Regions from separate parts of the Homo sapiens genome. Here region 2 is linked to region 1. Evidence: promoter capture Hi-C in 16 types of primary human blood cells and fetal thymus (Javierre and others, 2016). All regions are on one chromosome and are shown on one strand. The core of a region is centred on a gene start or on the middle of the fragment in contact, and the rest is flanking DNA. Distances in the headings are between cores, read along the strand shown. Region 1 holds the start of PDC (phosducin). Region 2 overlaps PLA2G4A (phospholipase A2 group IVA).

The links. The method cuts DNA at HindIII sites, captures the fragments that hold promoters and counts their contacts. A CHiCAGO score of 5 or more calls a contact.
Region 2: a contact is called between a fragment that was not itself captured here and the fragment with the promoter of PDC in region 1, in 1 of 17 cell types (erythroblasts). The highest score is 6.0, in erythroblasts.

What each region holds. Positions count from the first base shown.
Region 1 is chr1:186,457,143-186,463,945 of GRCh38, reverse strand. PDC (phosducin) reads left to right here and starts at 2,832. Exons shown (of 4, transcript NM_002597.5): 1 at 2,832-2,887. The region is part of intron 3 of PDC-AS1 (PDC antisense RNA 1); the gene reads right to left. The HindIII fragment of the contact is 3,468 bases long and covers 2,098-5,565 here.
Region 2 is chr1:186,950,806-186,956,878 of GRCh38, reverse strand. PLA2G4A (phospholipase A2 group IVA) reads right to left here. Exons shown (of 18, transcript NM_024420.3): 14 at 535-777. Among named protein-coding and RNA genes, the nearest start is that of PLA2G4A, 120 kb to the right of the region's middle. RefSeq lists a silencer at 6,015-6,073. The HindIII fragment of the contact is 9,445 bases long and covers 1-6,073 here.

The DNA.
Region 1 (6,803 bases), core at 1,583-4,082:
TAGATAGGTGTCTTGAGTAGAGTCAAGGCCATGAGGGGGGTTATGGAAAACAGAACAAATAAGAAAATATATATTGAGGAAGCACAGGCTGTAAAGTAAAGGTGATATGGAAGGCCTTAGGAAGAGTATTAACTAGTGACAGAAGATCAGCCACGGCGGGAGGAGCAGGGTTGGGGGCAGGCAGTGCATGCGGTTAGTGGGATGGAAAGCCGCAATCTTGGTATTTGAGCCCTACTGGGAAGATCAACAGACCCCTCCCAGCTGCTAAGGTGTTTACTCCAGCATTGTATCCTCCAAGATTTTGAGCTGACATTCCATTCTCCTAGGACTAGAGTGTATAGCTGTCCTTGAACTCCTAAGGAATTCATGGTTTTCTTTCAATTCTGTCCTTACAATTAACTTTCTCACGCTCAAAAAGAAAAAAAAAAAGAGCAAGTAGATATATATGACAGCCTTGGAACCAGAAGAATCTACACTGAAGGCTGTTTAGGATTTAAAGAAAATTCTGTAATTTCATCTTTTTAGAGCAGGTAATTTAATCTGCCCTAAACAGGAGACTTTACTGGTTAACAGTGTGGACCATGGAATTAAGTCATACCTGAATTCGAACGCTGGGGTCTGCATGGACATAATGTCAACATTTGAAACATAAAAACTGTTTTCTTGCTGCTGTATATAGAAGTACCTTGTCCACAGAAGAGTGCTTTCACACAGTAGGCATTCCACTAATATTGGGGAATAAATGCATCAGTTAGATAAGTTATAAAACTTATCCAAGCCTGTCTCCTCATCTATAAAATTATACTTGACCTACCTCAGGGGATTGTTGTAAAGATTATGCGAAGTAAACAATTAGTACCTGACCTGGCATGATGAGCACTCAGAAAGTGTCCTAATTATTAATATTTTTATTTCTGTTTTCTAAGATTATTTTCAGCTGGTTTATAATGTTTGTGCCTTGTAAAGTATTTAGTATTCTTAAAATTGGATGTAAAATCATATATAAAAATCTAAACACTATATCAACATATAATTCTAATACTTTTAAATGTTTTTACATCAATCAAGAATCATATGTGTGAAATAATGACCTTTTGGGCTTTGACTCTTGACAAGTTTTCATGATCTACAAAAATTACTCAATTCATAATTGAAGCAATTAGATCAGATATGCTTGTCCAAATTGTAGGCAAGTGTGTGATGTCCGTAATGACCCCAAATCCCTCCAGTGAACAGGTGCCAGAGATAGCACAAAATAAAAAGCAAATTATGGAAATATCTGTGTTGGGAAGGTGGGGGTAGGATAGGAATTGCTATAGTAATTTTTTTTTTACCGTTAAGTCTCTATGCTTGTGCCTATATTACATATTTGAACATATGAGTACCAAGCTATATTTGACAGTAACTTAAAACATATTTTTTGAATGTTAAAACCACTATGACATTTTTTATCATCAAACTGAAATATTAAATTTCTTCACATTTGCCATCAGAAGGCATCTTTTAAGTTACATTTGTATTGCACCTGACTACATTCTAGATTCTTTAGCTAGAGAGAAAACACTCAGTTCATAAAAACTGAAAGTGAATTGCCCTGAGAAACTCTGTTGAAAAGCATATGTATAGCACACAAACTGGAACATGAAACCTGCTAAATGGGAGGTAAAAATTTGATTTAAGGATGAAAATGAAAGTTAATTTAGAAAATACTTTGATTTCTGGAAGAATCTCTTTGAAAATATTTATGGTTGTGACTCTCTTAAATATTGTAAATTTTATGTACTCTTCTCTATTCTTGAAATCAAATTCTACAATAAAAAATATATAAGCAAACAAAGTTCTGAAATGTGACAGGTTTCCCTCTTACTAACAAAGAGTAAATAAATGACAAATTAATTTAGTATAATAAAACATAACTATTAAAATTTATTTAGACACTATCACTGTTTAAATTGCATTAAGATCCACTTAAAGTTTCTGGGTGAAGCTACATATGACTAAACCTTATAATTTAAAAATCTAAATGTGTTCATTTTAATTGCCATTAATATTAAAAATTTTGTCCTCTTGCTAATTAAAAATTTCCAGTTTTAAGCTTAGAGTAAATTAAATCTCCTACTTTGGCAAAGTTAGATGAGAATTTGGCTGTGAGGATGAAAGATGTTAGGAAAAGATGGAAGATTAAACACATGCATCTACTTCCCCTACATCTCAAAACTCCATTAAAAAACAGCAGGAAAGGAATTTTTAATGGTAAAAACCAGAAACAATAAGGAGAAGTGAAAAGGAGAAAATGCCAATAAAACTAGAATCCAGAAAGCAAGTAGATCTGTAAAGACAGCCCATCTGAAAAAATTGTATTAAAAGCCTGTAGTAAGAGAAGATGAAAATCATAGTATCTCTCTTATTCCTCCCAATGTTGTAGTAATCATAGCACTTCATTGTGATTATCTTTTTACTTACCTGTCTCCCCCACTAGACTGCAAGCCTCACGATATAGGAAATAGGGTTTATTTGTCTTTGTACCCTAGTGCCTAGCTACTGCTTGTTTCACACAAAGTAGGTGCTCAGTAGATGATTATGGGACTAATGAATACAACTCATGTTATTGCGATAAATAGTACTAATAATGACCTCTGTCTCTCATCTATTCAATGTGTTCTGTAAAATATAAACTGACTACTCTTTGTTTGGTTTTGCCTTATTATTAATGAACTGGCCTTGCTAATTCTGTCAATCCTATTACTTGTTCAGAGCTATTTCTGCAAGGGTCATCAATATCTGGAGATTTTAAATCTGAGCTTAAACCTATTGAAGTTCAAGACGAGTTCAGTAGACAGGGATTCTCACCCACTCAACAAGGACACCAGGCACAGAGATCCAAACTGTGAGTCCACAAGTAGTCCTTTTGATAATATAATTTTAAAAATTTTACCTTAGGGGAAAGAATGGTGATTCACTGTTTATGTATTATTGTGTTAATGTAAAATAGTTCAAAGTACATAAGGTTTTGAATTATCTACTATAAAGACAATTAAATACAGCGTATCCTTCTCTCTTTCAGTGATTTCCACCAGTCATCTTCACTAATACAGATTCAGAGTAAACACGCAATTTTGAGCCTGATATTCTAGACTGTTAAAATAAGACCATGAATGGAGAACTCATTTTGCAATTTTAAATTTCCTTTGAGTGAAGGGAGAACTAAAGAGAATAAATGATGAGTCCTTGCACTTTATGTTTGAAGATCTGGCTCCCAAGTTGGAAAAGGAGTGCGGTAGTTGCCCCTTATCCAAGGGGGATATGTTCCAGGACCCCCACTGGATGCCTAAAACCATAGATAAAACTGAACCTTGTGTGTATACTATGTTGTTTTCCTGAACATACATACCTGTGATAAAGTTTAATTTATAAATTAGACACAGTCAGAGGTTAACCATAATCACTAATAATAAAATAGAACCTTTATAACAATATGCTACCATCACAACACTTGCGCTTTGGGACCTTATTAAGTAAATAAGGGTTACTTGAACACAAGCACTGCAATAGTCAATCTGATAACCAAGACAGTAATGCATATGGTGTGGATATGGTATACAAAGAGATGTTTCATGTTCCAGGCCAGAGAGAGCAGGATAGTGTGAGATTTCATCAAGCTACTCAGTACACTGCAAATCTAAAACTTGCAAATTGTTTATCTCTGGAATTTTTCATCTAATATTTTTGGACCAAGGTTGACCAAGGGTAACTGTAATCACAGAAAGAAAAACCTCAGATAAGTGAGGACTGCTGTATTCATCCGGCGCTAAGGCATGTTTTGAGGCTTTTCCTTAGTAGTATGTTGTTGTGGCGGTGGTTTGTTGGTGGTTTTTAATTTTTAAAGTAGAAATAATGTTTGTTTTGAAAGGTTACTTTAGAAATTTAATGAAACAGAAATAATGTTTTTAAAAGAAAAGAACACAGAGTTTGTTGATATTTCTTAAATTCAGTGAAAATTTTCTTTCAATTGGTTTTTTTTTTTCTATTTTGTTTCCATGGAGGTTATTATTATTACTAATAAACCTTACAGTTTGCATCATGAAAATGAGTGCAGTAATTGATTTGCAATGGAGTATTTTTATTAACTGCAAAAATAGCTTCTAACTATAGAGTCCATTTTAAATATATATATATATATATATATATATATACACACACACACATATTGTCCATTGTACCTGCTACTTAGAATCACCTCATATTAAAGCTAGAAAAAACTTTAGAGATCATCTAATTCATCATGACAATTTCTGCCCAAATACTATGTTTATAAGTGGATTTGATATTATATAAGTCATTATCAAAATATATATGAACCATTCATAATAATGTCTGTAATGGAATTCAAACAATATGTACAGGAATATGTATATTTACAAGATAAACAGATACTTTAAAAAAGATGGCTGTTATGAATTTCTAAAATTCTATTTTCTCCAGAACAAGTAAAAGAATATCTGTATGTCTGCAATCCCGGCACCTCGGGAGGCCAAGGCTGGCGGATCACTCGCGGTTAGGGGCTGGAGACCCGGCCAACACAGCGAAACCCCGTCTCCACCAAAACCAGTCAGGCGTGGCGGCGCGTGCCTGCAATCGCAGGCACTCGGCAGGCTTAGAGCTTGTTAAAGATTCCTGGGTCCCACTTCAGATCTGCAAAGCAGGATCTTAGAATCTAGGGCCTGAAAAGGAGGAAGGGTCCTGGTAAATATCCCCAGGCTTTCTTTTTCTTTTTTTCTTTTTTTGAGTTGGAGTCTCATTCTGTCCCCCAGGCTGGAGTGCAGTGGCGAGATGTCGGCTCACTGCAACCTGCGCCTCCCAGGTTCAAGCGATTCTCCTGCGTCAGCCTCCGGAGTATCTGGGACTACAGGCACCCACCACCACGCCCGGTTAATTTTTGTACTTTTTGTAGAGATGGGGTTTTGCCATGTTGCCCAGGCTGGTCTTGAATTCCTGCGCTCAAGTGATCCACCTGCCTTGGCCTCTCAAAGCGTTGGGATTACAGGCGTGAGCCACCGCGCGCAGCCTCTCCAGGCTTTCAGCTGGGACCATGAAGGGCTCCACTCTTTGTGGTGATGATCAGAGGGGCGTATGCCCTCCATAACACTCCCATTCTTCATCTTTTCTCATATTCCAGGAGACTGGCCCAAACAGGACTGTTGAGTGGCTCTAAGGCTTTTAGACGTCAAAAGGGTTTATAAGAATAATCATCATAATATAGTTATGAATCAGAAACATGCATACATTTTCTTAAATGACCCTGTGGGGACTGGAGTTAAAAAGGGAGGAGTACCCAGATGCAGGCGTCTAGCAGAATGGACTTGCTTGAGAATATCAAGCAAGACAGCCAAAGAGGACTCCTAGGATTGTCTCACCAGGACTTCTGAGGCGACTCTAATGAAATGACTTAAAAGTGTGGTGGAGTGGCTTCTGTGGCTCCCACACCTGCCTAATCCTGGTTGATATTGCACAACCAGCGTGCACTGACAATCTCTGGGAAAAAAGCAAGGTCTAATATTCAAAGCTTGGCAAACATGACCAAGACTTTTTCTCTTTCCTTTGAATTATTTTAGTTCCCTAATTTTTTGTCCCAGATGCCACTTAATTCTTTTTATTTTGTATTAAAAGTTGTGCTCTTGTCTCAACCTTCTTTCTAAAAAAAAAAAAAAAAAAAAAAAAAGAATATCTGTATGTCATAATAGCAAACTTGGATAGGTGGATGTCTTTTCACTAGGAACAAGAATTCAGTTATGACTTTTAAAGCTCATATTTCCAGAGTAAATTTTTTTTTACTGATGATACAGGATAACAGATAGGAAATTGATATTTGCTATGCATTCCTGACATACTAATTGTTTAAAAGGCTCCCTACAACTCCCCTGCCCAGTCCCATTTGTTGAAAAAGCAAAACTATTTGAGTAGGGTAGAAACAGAAAATATTACATCAGTTCTATAGTGTCTTATATCAAAATTTCTATCATAGTTTTTCTATCAAAGTTCTTATGAACTTTATCTAGATACTGGGAGTGGGGGGAAGTCAGGCATAAAGTAAGGAAAATTTTCAACAGCATCAGGATGAATGTTTTGTATTTAAAAGAAAGAAAACAAACATTTGCTGACTGCCAACAATTTTCTAATTTGTTATAGCCATTTTGAGGACCATGTGTCCTGTATTCCACTCATGCGTCCCAAAATTTAATTTTAAAGAAAACTCTTATTATGATACCACCAAATGTAAAAATTGACCTATCCCAAAATTAACAACTAACATAACTGAAGGTGGCAACAAAAATCCTAAGTATTGTCTTACTCCATTAGAGAACTGAAATTCAGAAAAGATATATAAAGCATTACAACATAAATGCAAAAGGGAAAATCAAACAGAAAATCACTTATGATCCGCAAAATCATGGGTAGGGAAGACAATTCATTGGAAAACAAGTATGCTACATTCAAATTAAATAATCATTCCCATTTTCCAATTCCAATTAATTCAAGAAATTAATTGTTATGAGGCATAAAATCCCCTGTGTGTCTCTTGTGGAGACACTGAAAGTCTCCACAAGCCCAGTAATACTTTCATGATCTGACATGGTGTTGTCAAACCTATCTGATATGAAATTCTCACCACTGATAATTTATTTTAACAAGAAAGGAAAGGCACAACTGCTTTCTATAGAGTCCAATATGACATTGGGGAAGATATTCTTGGAAGGGGTTAAAACACTTCATATTAATGTGTCTGTATTGGTGAGCATATTAGC
Region 2 (6,073 bases), core at 2,989-5,488, 490 kb before region 1:
TTTCTATACTGACATGTCTAGGCCATTTCCTCTCCAATGTAAATTTTTCTTTAAAAAAAAATCCAGGCCAGGTACGGTGACTCACACCTGCAGTCCCAGCACTTTGGGAGGCTAAGGTAGGAGGATCACTTGAGCCCAGGAGTCTGAGACCAGCTTGGGCAACACGGCAAAAACCTGTCTCTACAAAAACTACAAAAATTAGCTGGGTATGGTGGTGTGCACCTGTAGTCCCAGCTACTCAGGAAGCTGAGGCAGGAGGATTGCTGCAGCCCAGGAATTAAGGATGCGGTGAGCCATGATTGTGCCACTGCACTGCAGCCTGGGTGACTGGGTGAGACCCTGTCTCAAAAATACAAACAAACAAACAACAACAAAAAAAAAACCCTAGTCATTTGAAGCCCTTCACACATTAAATGCAGGTTGTAATAACTGATAATAAATGAGTAAGTGTTAATAATAATTAAAATGCTTCTCTCCAGAGAAGGAATAAAGATCTCCTGCATTAGCTCCCACTAATTATATTTGTACACTTACCTGCTACAGCTGCATCCAGTTCATCATCATCAAAGGAGTCCTGTGTGGCAAAGTCACTCAAAGGAGACAGTGGATAAGATGTATTGAGATTCAAGCCCAGCATGAAGTTGTGTACCTTCCCAGCACGTCCTTCTCTGGTATTGAATAAAGCTGAATCACTCACCAAGGCCATTATCATACGATGAATCCAACTTGCTTGATTATCACTTTGATAGTCACTTCCAGCATCTTCATTTTCAGTGCCTAGGGAAAAATAAAAGGTCACCATACAGACTCCAAAATACATGTTTAAAAAGGGATCTTTGGGCTGGGCACGGTGGCTCACGCCTGTAATCCTAGCACTTTGGGAGGCCAAGGCGGGCGGATCATGAGGTCAAGAGATTGAGACCATCCTGGCCAACAAGGTGAAACACCATCTCTACTAAAAATACAAAAAAAAAAAAATTAGCTGGTCATGGTGGCGTGCACCTCTAGTCCCAGCTACTCGGGAGGCTGAGGCAGGAGAATCGCTTGAACCCGGGAGGCGGAGGTTGCAGTGAGCCGATATTGCATCACTGCACTCCAGCCTGACGACAGAGCAAGACTCTGTCTTAAAAAAAAAAAAAAAAAAGGGATCTTCTTTGGATAATTGAATGTTAAAATTAACAATAAAGCTCTATATTTGGTTTAACATGTGTATTTGCCTAAATTAATATTGCAGTTAATCATTTTTGTTCTTAATTTGTTCTTAGTTCTCCTTTTACCTACAGTGCGTGTAAGGGGTATATTCTCGACAGTGCCACTTGATCTATGCTCAGATTTCCAGGTAAATTTCTTTCATGTTCCCCCTTCCCTTCTTTCCTGAATTGATTTCTTCCTTTTCTCTGGCTTCAAGTGCACGCACTTGCATGCACACATATAACTTACACACAGAAAATCCAGTGGTTAATTCTATCCTCTACATTTCTTAAGTTACCTTAAGAAATCTTACCCTGTTTAACAAACATTCAGGATTTCTGCAAAATGAGGAGAGAGAGCTAAAGGATTCAACATATATTTGCTACTAAATAAACACCCTTATGACCTATTGATCTTATGACCTGTCATTTCATCCTTGCTTATAAAGTTTGGGGATTTAAAAGCCTTTAATTTAAACAAATGCCTAAACATTTTAAAATTCAGCAATCACCCCAAAGAAGCAGTTTTAAATGACTTTTTCCTTACCACCTATGCATACACCATTACTCCTGGGAAATTATATTGTATGGTCATTTATAGCACTGCCTCCAGAATCAGAATCCTTGGGTCTCAACCCTCTCTCCACTATTTTCTAGTTACTTTCCCCTTCTCTTCCTCCATTTCCTCACTGATAAACCTCCTAAAGTTGTGAGAATTAACTGTGTTTGTGCATCTATGTAATGTTCTTAGAAAAATGCCTGGCTCGTATTAAATTCTTAATAAACACTAGCTAGCAGCAGAAACAGTTGTAGCAGCAGCAGCAGAAGCATCATAATCATCAATCTTATTTATTCATAATCAAAATCAAAGAATAATTTATGGTAATGTATAACTTCACCTGCCTAAACCCCGTTTTTTTCTGATTTCTAGGAACCCTGTATATAAATAGTCACACATTTATAAAACTGTGTGTGTATGTGTGCGTGATTGTGTGTGTGTGTGTTGAAATAAAGAGAAAAAAGAGATTCTATAGTCAGCTTCATAATTTCCAATAAATGTAAACTAAACATACATAAAACCATAATAAATATATATTTTTATTACACTTAAAATTATAGGGTACATGTGCACAATGTGCAGGTTTGATACATAGCTATACATGTGTCATGTTGGTTTGCTGCACCCATCAACTCATCATTTATATTAGGTATTTCTCCTAATGCTATCCCTCCCCCAGCCCCCCACACCCTGACAGGCCCTGGTGTGTGATGTTCCCCACCCGGTGTCCAAGTGTTCTATTGTTTAATTCCCACCTATGAGTGAGAATATGTGGTGTTTGGTTTTCTGTCTTTGTGATAGTTTGCTGAGAATGATGGTTTCCAGCTTCATGCATGTTCCTGCAAAGGACATGAACCCATCCTTTTTTATGGCTATATAGTATTCCATGGTATATATTTGCCACATTTTCTTAATCCTGTCTACCACAATGGACATTTGGGTTGGTTCCAAGTCTTTGCTATTATGAATAGCGCCACCATAAACATACATGTGCATGTGTCTTTATAGTAGCATGATTTATAATCCTTATCTTCACAGGTATTTGTTTAACTGAGCTGAGTAAATGAAGAGATCTTTCATTCAGTAACCAGTCCAGATGACTATATAGTCACCAAAAACAAATACACTACTTTCTACTCTTACACTTTTCTAATGCCAAACAGGACAAAATATGTCTTTTACTAGAACAATTCAGGCTTTAAAGTGAACGATTTCTATCTCTAGTTACACAGCATATAAATAGGATATGCAATTATTTCCAAAGATTTTGGGGCTGTCGCTTCTTACTTTTCTTCTTCTTATTCAATAAGCCCTCACTTCCATACCAGGATACCTTTGATAATGGCATCACTTGTGGGACAAACCCAACAGTCAACATATAAATGATACTTATTGCTTATTAATCATAACAGTAATAGTACATTTCTATTTGCATCGCCCTTTACAACTTAGAGCCCTTTTGTATGCATTTGCTAAATTAATGATTGCAACAATTCTGTGAGAGAAGGTAAATGGTTCCAGGATAGGTCTGAAGAAACTAAAGCTGAAAATGCCTAAAACTTTGCTCAAAATCATATGACTAAACATGAAAGAGCCTCAAGAGAATAAAAGGATAACCCACAGATTGAAAGAAATTATTTGCAACAGACATATTTGATTTAAAACATGTAATATAAAACATACAAAGAACACTTTAAATTCAATAATAAGAAAATAACCCCAATCCAAAAATGGGCCAAAGGCCTGAACTGATACCTCATCAAAACGATATACAGATAGCAGATAAGCATATGAGAAGATGCTTCAAGTTAAATGTCATTTGAGAAATGCAAATTAAAACAATAAAAAGATACTACTACATACCTATTAGAATGACCAATATCCAAAGCACAGGTAATACCAAATGTTTAAAAGATGTGGAGCAACAAGAACTCTCATTCATGGCTGGTAGTGGAATGCAAAATGGTACAGCCACTTTGGAAGACCATTTGGCAGTTTCTTACAAAACTAAATATACTCTTACCATATGATCCAGCAATTGTGCTCCATGGTATTTACCCAAATAAACTGAAAAATCTGTGTCTGCACCAAAACATGTACATAGATTTTTCTAGCAGTTTTATTCATAATGTCCAAAACTTGGAAGCAAACTTCAAGTTTTCCAAGTTCACCTTCCTCAGCAGGTGAATGAATAACTAAACTGTGGCACAACCTGACAATGTAATATTATTCAGTGCTAAAAAAATAAGCTATGAAGCCAAGAAAAAACATAGAGGAACTTTAAATGCACACTACTAAGTGAAAGATCTGAAAAGGCTACATTATTGTTTGATTCTGACTACATGACATTCTGGAAAAGGCAAAACTATGGAGAGAGTAAAATGATTAGTGCTTGTTAGGGGTTGGGGGAGGAGGGGACGGGGCAGGAGACAGGATTTTTAGAGCAGTGAAACTAGTGTGTGTGACATGTATAATGATGAATATATGTCATTACATATTTGTCAAAACCCATAGAATATACACTAACAGTGAGTCCTACTGTAAACTATGGACTTTGACTGATAATAATGTCAATTTAAGTTCATCACTTGTAACAAATGTACCACTCTGGTGTGGAATGTTTATAGTGGGAGAGGCAGGGGTGGTGGAAGGTGGACAGGGGACATATGGGAACTCTGTACTTTGTGCTCAGTTTTGCTTTGAGCCTAAAACTGCTCTAAAAACTCTATGTAAAAGAGAAAAAATAAATACTAAGAGCCGAAAAGAAAACCTTAACCACATACTACATATCATGCTGTAAGCAAGGCTGATCCTAAAACCAAAGCAGCCATATTCAACAGTCCTTGAACTTCTCAGCCTTAAGACTCAGCTAGTACTGTAGGGGTTATCAAATGTACTGACTATCTATAGAAATACTTAATAATGGAGAAACCATTATTCTGTCTCCTCAGTAGTCCCTAAATCAATACACAAATAATTCTAAAGATGCTAGGCATGTGATAGCTATCCCCTTTACAATAGCTAGCTTCCTTCATTAAAAGGAAATTCAAAACAAAAAGGACTTAAACAACTAAAATATATATAAATTTTAAATTTTAAAAATGAAGGAGCCAGGATGAAGACTTGCTTGCTTCCAGGACAGGGTTCTTTTGGGGTTCCTGCTTAATGATCAGGGCTGCTGGTCATTATTTGATTAGGCAGATCATGGGCTACATAACGCAGCAGGATAGGGGGGCAAATCAGGGCTGAACCCAACTTGCACTCATCTAGCCAAGCCTCATGCCCAGATGAAAGCGTTGGCTGCCCAGGGAAGGAATCCTCTTTTTTAATGTTCGCAAGACAACATACACTAGCCAAGCCATGGCCCTGTGCAGCTACATTCTCCAGAGAAGGCAGCTTTTCTTTAATTTACACAAACACATCTTCTGAGGAAGTAATAGCCCAGCTATGAAAAAAGAATTTTAATTTTAGTAATAATTAAGCAAGGATAAAACAGGCTCTTCCATGCCTAGTGGAATTAATTAAGTTTTGGACCAGAAAGCATTTAATATCTTCTAAAATCTAGATGATCATATTCAAACTGTAATAGGACAGATATATCCAGTTCTTATAAAGCCTTCCCTTTGTTTTGTTTTTTGTTGTTGTTGTTTTTGTTTTTGTTTGTTGGCTTTTTTTTAACTATTGGGAACATTTTTATAAATGGCTGTCTCAAAACACTGTGTCAAAATAATCTATTTTACCACAAAACATTTACAACAAATATGACTTTCATATTTGTTGCAAATCTGATCCTCACCTTATCTCTGCCCCAAGTCCATCACTGACTATCATAATCCACACCAAACTGCAAACTACCTTGTCAAAATGTAAAAGGGCTCATTTATACTATGAAATAATATACGTATCAAGTTCTTGATACTTTTACCCCACTTCATCACTAATCCTTTCTCAAGAGGGAGGGTGTAGCCAGTGGGATAAGGGTCAGGAATGGAGTGAGAATATAATTTTTCATGTTACTTAATAACAAAATTCTGAAAGACAAAATGTTAATTTTTAAAGCCATCTAAAAATGTTCCCAAATCACAGTAACCATGCTGAGAAGCCTAGTGCTCTAATCAGACTTAAAATAGAATTCAGCATTTCTACCATCTTGGATCTGTTCATTTGTTCAACTTATAGTATTTTTGAGGTATTAAAACAAAATAAATTAGGGATTTATATGTGCTGCCTATTTTATTAGACATGCAACATGCAATCCTCTCTCTCAACAGAAAGCTACAATTTTATCACTTCCGTGTCTGAAGTGAAGATTACCATCAGCATC